Regions from separate parts of the Homo sapiens genome. Here region 2 is linked to region 1. Evidence: promoter capture Hi-C in 16 types of primary human blood cells and fetal thymus (Javierre and others, 2016). All regions are on one chromosome and are shown on one strand. The core of a region is centred on a gene start or on the middle of the fragment in contact, and the rest is flanking DNA. Distances in the headings are between cores, read along the strand shown. Region 1 holds the start of BICD1 (BICD cargo adaptor 1). Region 2 overlaps BICD1 (BICD cargo adaptor 1).

Region 1 (5,738 bases), core at 1,487-3,986:
GGGCAACATAGACAGACCCTGTCTCTACAAAAATTTAAAAAATTAGCTGAGTGTGGTGGTATTCATCTGTAGTTCCAGCTACTCAGGAGGCTGAGGTGGGAGGATCGCTTGAGTCCAGGAGGTTGAGGCTGCAGGGAGTCATGATCATGCCACTCCACTCCAGCCTAAGTGATGGAGACCCTGTCTCAGAAAAAAAGAGAAAAAAAACAAGAAAATAAGTTTATCTTCTTTACGTTAAATACCAACATTTAAGGATCAAAGTTCAACTAAGCAACATCTTAAAGTGTCAGAGTGTGCAAGACATGCCTGAAATCAGACAAAAGTGACAAGTGACAAAAGTGTATCAATCAGAAAAACGGGGCAGGATAGAGCATAGGGGCTGGACCACAATGGAAATTTAGCAAAAAGGAAAGTCACAGAGGCAAACTCTGTTCTTAGTTTGATCCAAAGGAGAGGGAGGCACAGGCAATCTAGTGCGAGTCTTATGATCCCTTTGGAAGGCCTATGCTTACAGTTTGTAGAGTGAGGAACAGCCAGAGGCTTCCTGGGAAGGCAGGTTAGCTACCTGCAATTGCAGGTTCCATCTCTTTTCAGCAGTTCATCATCATTCATCAACGTGTCAGAGGTCAGATGCCACGGGAGCACACAGGAGGGGCTTCCCACCTGGAGTGCGAGATAAGGAAAGATGGGTCGGATGTTGTAGTCATTATCATCCGCTTCTCTACAAGGCTGGAATTTATGGTGGCTGCACATTTGGAATGTTTTCTCCTTTTATTTATTTATTTTTAGATCAGACAATCACAAGAGAATATTCTTTTGTTTTATTTTTAGATCAGACAATCACATGAGAATATTCTGTTGTGATCGCTGGCGTTTAGAAGGAAACTTGTCTGGTTTGTGAAGCAATGGAAAACACATCCAGACAGCCTGCTAGTGGAAACTTTGGAAGGGCACTGTCATATGCTTTTTCTCCCACGCCATCAACAAGTGTCCTTTTTTTTTTTTTTTTTTGAGATGGAGTCTCTGTTGCCTAGGCTGGAGTATAGTGGTGCCATCTGTACCCTCCACCTCCTGGATTCAAGCAATTCTCCTGCCTCAGCCTCCCAAGTAGCTGGGATCACAGGCGTGCACCACCATACCTGGCTAATTTTTGTATTTTTAGTAGAGATGGGATTTCACCATGTGGGCCAGGCTAGTCTTGAACTCCGGACCTCAAATGATCCATCCACTTCTGCCTCCCAAAGTGCTGGGATTATAGGCGTGAGCCACTGTGCCCGGTCAACAATCATCTTTTTTTTTTTTTTTTTTTTTTTTACCAGGTACACAATGATGGGAGAGTTGAGTCCTGCTTTCTAACTTAGAAAACGCATGTGTGTTCATCACCTGGTCACTGAGAAACAGCTCTGGAATAGGTGCCATGCAGAAGAAGAGAGGGAACTGGAAAGACCCACTGATCTGTGGGTCTCACAGCCTCCCGTTACACAGAAATTGCTTCTTTTCTCTCATGTTGCGTTCTTCCTCTTGATTCTCGACCCTTCTCCACTCTTTCATTTACTCCACTCTTACTTTGCTTTCACCTCCTTTTGTAACCGTTCATCATCACTCTTCATATGGATTAATGTGATTATCTTAAAAGCATGTAATATGTAGTTGCTGGGTTTGTATGAGTAATGAGTGAACCTGAAGCCAACATAATGATCCCGTTTAGTGCTCCCGAGTTAAGATTCCAGAGTTGCCTGACTTTGGACAAATCACATCTCCCTTTGCCTTTCACCCCCTGTAAACTGAGGATAATGGCTCTTACCTCAAAGCATTGTTAGGATTGGAGAGAACGCATGTTACATACTTAGAAGAATGCTTGGTATGGGTCTCAAGAACTCTTAGCTCTTATTGTTTAAAAAATGCTTATTACAGGGCATCGTTGGTATCTTATATAGGGAATTTCAAGCAGTTTTCCTTTATTGAAGACACAGAGTAAGGTGCTTTGATGGAAACTATTGGGGCAAGATATACAGTACCTAGCTAGAGGTTTCCTGGGTGCATGTATTGTGGAGATATTTTTTTTCTGAGTGGATAGCGCTCTTGTGATACGCTGGGTGAGGGCGAGCAATATTTAGCGGACTGTCCTGTGAGGATAGTAAGGTTATCTGGTGAGAGTGTTAGGTGGCCCAGGCCAGACTTGGGAGAGGCAGGGAGAGAGGGGGACGACGGAGGAGGGCGCCTTGGGGTGCGTCTTGAAAGCTTTGGGAAACCCAGCGGTCTTTTGGGGGCAGGTGGCCCAAAAAGCCTTCTGCGCGCCCAGGGGACGAGGAGGATGCGCGGACCGCGACCGCGATAGTTTTGTTTGCTTTTCTCGGGAGAAAGCGTTCCAGGCAGTTTCCTGAGCTTCGGCCCTCGACGTAGCAAAAGAGCCCGGGCGCCCACGCCGCTCTCGGGGTCTTCTACTGCCACCGGGACAAAGCCCTGGGAGGAGCTCCCGCCCCCGCGAGCCGGACAGGGCGGAGGCTCCCCCGCCGCGCGCGCCCCACCGCTTCCCAGTCCCAGACCCGTCGCCTGCGCCTCCTCCTGGCGCGCCTCACGGTGCAGCGGGCGGCGGCCCGCGCGCCCGGCGGGAGGCGCCTCGGGATGTTTCCGTCTGGTCCTTCCCTCCGCCCCCCGCGCTGACTCCATCCGCTCCCCGCCCCCTGCTCGGAGCCGCCGCCACGCGGGAAGGGAGGGAGCCGGCCCCGAGACTGCATCATTCCGCACCGGCTGCTGCAGGGCCAGAGGGAGCAGGTGGAGCGAGAGAGCGAGCCGCGAGCCGGAGCGCGCCAGACCCAGGGCGAGACTGCAGTGACGCGGCCCGGGAGACATGGCGGACGGGCGTCTCTGAATAAGCAGAATCCGGAGCCCCTCGCTACCCGCGGCCGCCGCAGCCCGGGCCATGCCGCACGGCTGCTGACCGCACGCAGGGGCCGGCCCCGAGGACACATGCGGCGGCCTTTGCCGCCTCGCCCCTGACCCTCTGCCCTGTTCTCCATGTTGCATTTCTCGTCAGTTTCTCGGGCGGTGTAGCTGCCGCTGCCACCAGAGCCGGCGGGGCATCGCGCTGCTCATTCATCCGGCCGCACTTTCTTTTCCGTTTCCACCCATCCCTTCCCATTTCCTTCTCCCTTTCCCCGCCAGCTTCGCATCCATCTCCCCCACCCCGTAACCCCCTCCTGCCTCCATCCACCGGGGCTATGGCCGCAGAAGAGGTATTGCAGACGGTGGACCATTATAAGACTGAGATAGAGAGGCTAACCAAGGAGCTCACGGAGACCACCCACGAGAAGATCCAGGCTGCCGAGTACGGGCTGGTGGTGCTGGAGGAGAAGCTGACCCTCAAACAGCAGTATGATGAACTGGAGGCTGAGTACGACAGCCTCAAACAGGAGCTGGAGCAGCTCAAAGAGGTGAGTTGCCTGTCACCTCTCCCTTTCCTGGCCCTCACTCCCCCCACCCGCAAGGCCCACTCATCATGATCAAGAAGTCATAAAGGAGGTGATTGAAAGGACTGTTTTTTCTTCTAGGGCCCTTTGTTGGTAAGAGAAGATTGAAAGAGTCCATTGTTTCCTCCCCCAAGAGAAAAATTGCCTAAGAAATGAATATATAAGCTGGAATTTGGGAGGCAATGGCTGTTTGGCCTGCGGGGGAGGGAGATTAGTAAGAGTCATCAAGTCTCAGCACTCTAAGACGACATTCAAGTGGGTTGGAATGTATAAATCAAACTTCTCAAAACCGCTGTTATCTCAAACCCAGGTTTCAGCGACAATTTCGTAGTCCACAAAAGTGATGAGGTTTGTGCCTGAGGACCCACAATTTCAGGATTTAGACTGTGTGGCACCTCAGCTTTCCTCTGGATGTAACCACTCCTTGGTGAGAGAGGGAACTCCTCACCAATCCCATTTGACAAAGGCTAGGCAATCTTCATTCTGCTTGGCTTTAGTCATTCTTGTCATTGGGCTGCAGAAGAAAAACAACTTTGCTGGGTGATCCCACTGCCTTGATTTCACCTCGGAGCGAGGCTGGGCCATGTCCAAGTCTTATGAGGTCACCCTGACTAGAAAAAATTGAACTCACCTACAAATAGTCTGAAAGAGTGGTGTATATCAAATACGTGGGTAGTGTTGCATTTCAAATGAGGCTCTTCTGGTTGAAATGATATATTTATAAAACCAGAATATCAAAAATGGGTGATGTATAATGTCTCTTTAGTTTTTTGGTATTTGGCCTCTTTTAAAGCCTGTCGGATGTATGGGAGAAAACAATGAACGTGCTTTGATTTCCTATCAGTCACTCTTAAGAACATACATATTGTTTAAGTAACTCGGTCTTTTTTATCTGATTCTTGAGGCACTATGGGTAGCAAATAACCACTTACAAATTTAAATGTAATATACACTCCTTTTCTGTGTGTCAAGTCCTTATTTTTAGGTGCATATTGACATTTAAATGTTAATTATTGTTTGGCATATAATATCAAAAATCTATTATTTATTTTATGCTGTTACAGTTAAAAGATGTGATTTATGACATACTGAATCAACTTGCCTTCCAATTTAGTGTGTAATATGGTAAGCATTTATACTTTTAGATATGTCTTATTTTTATTTGGATGCCTGTCTACCAAAAAATAAATGTACTACCTATGATTAAAAATCCCAACTAGGAATCTAATTTTTGTGTGTCAGGCTGTAAATTTCTGGTTCCTATTTTACTTACCATGTACCTGTCTGGTCTTAACAACAGCTGGACTTGTTTATATTTTCCAACTTAGATTAGGCTGACATGTTTAAATGCAGTGATGCTAAACCTTGTGAAGTGAGGAAGCAGGATGATGACTGTCATTCTCAGAGATGTTTTGATATTGTCTATACCTATCAACACTGCTTTGCCAAGATAGGGAAGTGCAAACCAGAAAGTGGTAAGCCATCACCTTCTTGATAAAGGAGATGGACTTAATTTAATGAAATGTACCTCTTACTGACTTTGCTGCTTGATTTAAACAATCCTTCTAGGGATATTTCTGTCATTGCACTTACCTTGCATAGCAAACCTTAATGCAATTGTGTTTTGCCTTTGCTACACCATGAGCTTTGCATCCCAAGTCTTTAACACAAAAGCTAGCACACAGTGGGCATGAAATATTTTATGAAAGAATCAGTTTGTACTAGAAGAAGGCACACTTTTATCAAGGGTTCACTAGTCAATATTGATTAGTGTTAGATAAATACTAAGAAAATTAGGATGTATAGGAAGTGACAGATGTTAATAAAACTACCTGTATTAGTTTCACCAGCAGTAATGAGAAAAATGTGAAAAAAACGTTTTGTAGGAATAATGTAACTGTGGTTTCTTAATACAGAATAATGCAAATACCAACTAAAATTTTTTCTATAAATATTTTAATATATATTTTGTTCTATATAGCAGGAGGTTAATAAAAATTTACCAGCATTATTTTTACTAAACGATTCTTGTTCATATATTTATTTTCAGTTGCATTTAGCATAAGTGAAATTCGAGATTCCTAAAAAACTGGTTTATACAGTTATATAAAAATGTATTTTAGGTAATAAAATTATTATAGTTGATTATTTGATAGTGAGGCCTATTATTTTTATTCTTTAAACATAGAATATACTTTAGTTGGAAATATAACTTAAATGAGTTAAATTGATTTCAAGTAACATTTCTTGTATGAAAAGTAAATCCAA
Region 2 (5,738 bases), core at 1,627-4,126, 220 kb after region 1:
TGTGTCTATGTAATAATGAAACTCCCAACAGGGTCATGCTGGATTACTATAGGCAGAGCAGAGTCACCCGCAGTGGCAGCCTGAAAGGGCCCGATGATCCCAGAGGACTTTTGTCCCCACGATTAGCCAGGCGGGGTGTGTCATCCCCGGTAGAAACAAGGACCTCATCTGAACCAGTTGCAAAAGAAAGCACAGAGGCCAGCAAAGAACCAAGTCCAACTAAGACCCCCACAATCTCTCCTGTTATTACTGCCCCACCGTCATCTCCAGTATTGGATACAAGTGACATCCGCAAAGAGCCAATGAATATCTACAACCTTAATGCCATAATCCGGGACCAAATCAAGCATCTGCAGAAAGCTGTGGACCGGTCCTTGCAACTGTCTCGTCAAAGAGCAGCGGCTCGGGAGCTAGCCCCCATGATTGATAAAGACAAGGAAGCCTTAATGGAAGAGATCCTCAAGCTAAAGTCCCTGCTGAGCACCAAACGGGAGCAGATCGCCACATTGAGGGCGGTGTTGAAAGCCAACAAGCAGGTAATCTCATTCTACTGGTGAAAGCATGCCAGTCAAAGCTTTCTTAACTAATTTATTCCCTAATTTTATTGAGTATCGAGTATCGTCAAGATGAGAGTTCAGATTCTTGGTAAGTGGATAAATAAAACTGTCCCAGTGCCAGATCAGAATGTCATAATAATTATTGTTTTTAAATGATGAAATACCTGTGCCCAGTTAGGTGGAGGCAGAGGTGAGGAACTTAAAGCAGGAACACAGGAGAAGATCTAGATGCCTTTCTGCAGATGTAGAAAGGCAGCTCAGGCGGTGCTGGGCTGAAGCCTGGCAGTGAGTGGCTGTGGAAACAGGAGATGGAGGGTGGCAGAATAGGCTGGCAAGGCAGGTTACACCAACCAGGGCGATACAGCAAGAAAGACAAACACCCAGCAGGCAGCTAGAGCAAACAGAGGGAAATCTGGGTACATATGGTGAAGAAGGTCTGATGGCCAATAACTGGACCCCAGCTTTGGAGCTGGAGGTTCAGATTCAAGACTCAATTTCTAGGAGTATAGCAAAATTATTATTATTATTATTTTTTATTTTTGTTTTGAGACAGAGTCTCGCTCTGTTGTCCAGGCTGGAGTGCACTGGCGCCATCTCTGCTCACTGCAACCTCCGCCTCCTGGGTTCAAGCGATTCTCATGCCTCAGCCTCCGAAGCAGCTGAGATTACAGGCATGTGCCACCATGCCTGGCTAACTTTTTGTGGAGACAGAATTTCACCATATTGTCTAGGCTGGTCTCGAACTCCTGACCTCAAGTGATCCGCCCACCTCGGCCTCCCAAAGTGCTGGGATTACAGGCATGAACCACCGCGCCCAGCCAAGTATAGCAAGATTAAAAGGAGTGTTTTGTCCTTCATCCCAAACTTAGAGAAACAAGAGCGCTAAATAAATGAATAAGTCAGGGATGAAAGGCAAGACAACTGTGAGGACCTGAGTGAGTAACAGAAACAAAGCCAGACAGATTGTTACCAACAAATTAAATAGTTTGGGGCCACTTTAGCAAGGAAATAATAGAGAGTGTGTGTGAGAGAGTATAAGAATGAGCTCTACCTGTGCTACTGACCACGTATCTGAAATTTAGGTTCATTTGGGATGTTAACCCACCTGGGTCAGAGGTTAAGTAATAGGGAGCTTTTCCTAGCTATTGATCTTGTCCTTCTGGACAAGTAGTAATGTTACAACATGAACCTGTCTAATTCCCAGCCCTCCTTAATGACTGAAATTGTTTTCACCCTGAGTTTTACCTTGGTGGGAGTGCTGCGAAATATAGGCAGGAAAATTATTTTCACCTTTATTTAGTTTATCTGAAAAGATATTCTTGAAAGACACATATTTGAGAAAGGTGCTGAATAAATGTTGGTGTTGATAAAGAGAAGCAACAAAGCACCAAATACCCTCCTGCAAACGCAAGCAGTGCCAGTGAATAGTAGGTCAAGGGAGCTCTTGGTCTTTGGAGAATGAGGATTAATTTCAGATTCAGAGTGTCTTCTCCATTTGCCATCATCTGGGGAAAACCACGCCCTTATTATCTCATCTACAGTGCAGCTTTCAAGTCCTCATCTCTAGTTCCCATAAATCTATTTATATAATTGACATCTATACCATAAGCCATAATATTGTTTGCACTATTAACATGTTTTATATAAACCTAAGGGCAAAATATGACTTTATTTTATGTTGTCACTTTAGAGAAATAGAAAAGATTAGAGTGAATGAAACCATCATTCTCAGCAAACTATCGCAAGGACAAAAAACCGAACACCACAAGTTCTCGCTCATAGGTGGGAATCGAACAATGAGAACACATGGACACAGGAAGGGGAACATCACACACCGGGGCCTGTTGTGGGGTGGGGGGAGGGGAGAGGGATAGCATTAGGAGATTTACCTAATGTAAATGACGAGTTAATGGGTGCAGCACACCAACATGGCACATGTATACATATGTAACAAACCTGTACGTTGTGCACATGTACCCTAGAACTTAAAGTAAATTAAAATATATATATATAAAATAAATAAAATAAAAAAAGAAAAGATTAGAGTGAATGAAGAATTTGTGAGAGATCTGACTCTAATTTTAGGTCGGAATAAAGGAATTTATTATTGTAACTCTGCTATAATTTAAAGACCCAATGATTCAGAGTGGTCATAAATAACCAATACCATATTAGATAAGGCTTACACAAGGACATGCTATCCTGGGGCATTCTTGATCAAGCCATCCAGATAACTTCTCTGACTTCTTCCTAAAGGTTGAATATTAACAATTTAGGTCTGGGCGCAATGGCTCACGCCTGTAATGCCAGCACTTTGGGAGGCCAAGGCCAGTGGATCACTTGAGGTCAGGAGTTTGAGACCAGCCTGACCAACATGGAGAAACACCGTCCCTACTAAAAATACAAAATTAACCAGGCGTGGTGGCGGGTGCCTGTAATCCCAGCTACTCGGGAGGCTGAGGCAGGAGAATCACTTGAACCCCGGGGGGCGGAGGTTGCGGTGAGCCTAGATTGCATGATTGCACTCCAGCCTGGGCAACAAGAGCGAAAATCTGTCTTAAAAAAAAAAAAATCAAGATGCTTAACTGAAACAGAGGTATAGATAAGGACACTTGGCCAACCAACAGAGACTAATTTGTGAACAAGCATTCATTGATTACATATTTTCTGGGAGGCAGTAAGTAGGGATGCAAAAATAAATGACATAATCTAGTAGGAATTCCGCAATTGCCTGTAGCTGTTTACAAGACAGGACTTATCAAGCACTTTAGAGTGATGTAAACAGTACCACAGGAAATCAGAACAGAACAAAGCATTCCTAGCTGAAGTTTTATTTTCACTGTGCTTTGTGGTACAGGTTGAGTATCCCTTTTCCGAAATGTTTTGGGGGACAAGAAATGTTTCAGATTTTGGATTTTGGACATTTGCATATATACATAATGAGTTATCTTGGGGATGGGATCCAGGTCCAAACATGAAATTTACTTATGTTTCATGTATTCCTATATACATAGCCTGAAGGTAATTTTATACAATTTTTTTAATGATTCCGTGGCTGAAACAAAGTTTTGACTGCCACTCATGACATGAGGTCAGGTGTAGAATTTTGTGGCTCATGTCAGCACTCAAAAGGTTTCAGATTTTGAAGCATTTTGGATTTTGGATTAAGGATGCTCAACCTGTACCATTTGCATTACATTAGAGTTACAGTCTATATGGGCTCAGTAAATTAAATGAAAACACATTTCTAGCAATGCATTTGGTCTGCACGTTCATGATGTTGGGGCTGTTGCTGTGATGCTTATTGCCGTAAATAGCTTCAAGTATTAACAGATGACATTCACTATATTTATTTAGACATTGTGAAATGTTTGTTTTTAAGGTTAAGGTGAGAATTCTGGGGTACAGGGGAAAAAAGGAAATCTCCCTGTTTTAAAATAGGCATTCTACTATACAGCCATAAGAAAGAAAAGAATGAGATCATGTCATTTACAGGGACATGGTTGGAGCTGGAGACCATTATCCTTAGCAAACTAACACAGGAACAGAAAACCAGATACCGCATGTTCTCACTTATAAGTGGGAGCTAAATGATGAGAGCAAATAGACACATAGAGGGGAACAACACACACTGGTTCCTGTTGGAGGCTGAAGGATGAGAGGAAGGAGATGATCAGGAAAAATAACAAATGGATACTAGGCTTACATACCTGGTGAAGAAATAATTGGTACAACAAACCCCCATGACACACATTTACCTATGTAACAAACCTGCACATCCTGCAGCTGTACCCCTGAACTTAAAAGTTAAAAATAAATAAATAGGCATTCTGTAGTCTCTATGAATCTTCTCATTTACTTAAGGATTTTTTCATAGGCACAGTGCCTTCTGATGAAGTCAGTAAATGCTTATGAAGCACCGTCCATCTAGCACTGTGCTAGATGCTGAAGATTCAAAGAAGACTAACACATGGTCCCTGCCTTCCAGAAGACTCAGCCTCCTGGGGATGTCAGGATAGAAACACAATTACAGTTCAACGTTACACATGCTGTAATCCAAGTTATGAGAACAATGCAGAGGAAGCAACTAAGGTTTCCTAGAGGAGCGGAAAAGACTTCACAGAAGCAATTATACCTTAGTTTGTTATTAAAGGATAAGAAGTTGTTTTCCAGAGGAGGAGGAAGTAATTCCAGACAGAACAGTAGGTAGAGAGGCTTTGGAGTGACAAAATAGAATAATATATTCAGGGAATGCTCACAAAGGCCTATGTGGCTGGAAATAAGACTTTTTTTATTTAGAAAGTCAACTTTGGAATGTGTGGAGAAAGTGGTGAAAGCAGAAATCAGCAAATCCAGTGAGTTATGGATACTTAAAATTACTTAATTCTGGAAAAACTTTGCACAGTCAATGGACAAACAAATCTACAAACAAAACTGAGGCTTTGGGGTATTTGTCACAAACAATAAATGATTTTGTATTTCTGTTTCAGATCTAGCTCTTCTGTTATCCCCCATTTTATTCCCCTTAGATACTGACCATGGGATTCTATGTGCTTACAAATTTGTTACATCTACATTTCACAACTTAAACATACTTTTCTGTTTTAAATGAATATGTGTCTAAGCTTTTTAAACACTAAACAACTGCCGTTTTTCCCCAGGTCAATTTCTGCCTTGTGGATAATTTTCTGAATCTGTAATATTTCTGAAGATTCCTCCAAGTATTTACAGAACATACAGAAGTATTTTATGAGTAAAGTCTCATTTTAATCTGAATTTAAATCCAATCAAAACTCACAAGAAACTACTTCGGAATCAAAACAGTAACAAAGTACCCTATCCCAACATTGATTTAATTAAGAAAGAATTTATTTCTATAGATGTTGGCACTTTGCATATGAAGGTTTGAAGCTGCCCATTTCAAGCAACAAAAAGAAATGTTAAAAACCAAGGTAGTCTTCCTGGGAAATCCCGTTAGTAATGGATTTCTCTGCTAGTAATGGGGTTGTTCATTAGTATGGGGTATTTGTATACACTTTGAAAAGTTATAGTTTCCAGTTTGTAAAAATCATGTGTTCCCAGTTTGGCTTCAACATGCAAACTGTGTGCTATGCATCAAACAGGCAATCCCTAAGTATACACTGATTTTATGCATTGATTCAGTCAGTGTGTTTTTTTACT

The links. Contacts are between HindIII fragments. The CHiCAGO score rates a contact against its expected background, and 5 or more counts as called.
Region 2: a contact is called between a fragment that was not itself captured here and the fragment with the promoter of BICD1 in region 1, in 1 of 17 cell types (M2 macrophages). The highest score is 5.4, in M2 macrophages.

Annotation. Positions count from the first base shown.
Region 1 is chr12:32,104,111-32,109,848 of GRCh38, forward strand. BICD1 (BICD cargo adaptor 1) reads left to right here and starts at 2,737. Exons shown (of 10, transcript NM_001714.4): 1 at 2,737-3,434. The coding sequence starts at 3,222. It overlaps BICD1-AS1 (BICD1 antisense RNA 1), which reads right to left and starts at 3,352. Exons shown (of 3, transcript NR_185992.1): 1 at 3,284-3,352; 2 at 566-663; 3 at 7-180. RefSeq lists a silencer at 2,260-2,739 and enhancers at 3,100-3,179, 3,707-4,344. The HindIII fragment of the contact is 11,162 bases long and covers 2,240-5,738 here.
Region 2 is chr12:32,328,020-32,333,757 of GRCh38, forward strand. It overlaps BICD1 (BICD cargo adaptor 1), which reads left to right. Exons shown (of 10, transcript NM_001714.4): 5 at 1-536. Among named protein-coding and RNA genes, the nearest start is that of FGD4, 69 kb to the right of the region's middle. The HindIII fragment of the contact is 4,608 bases long and covers 573-5,180 here.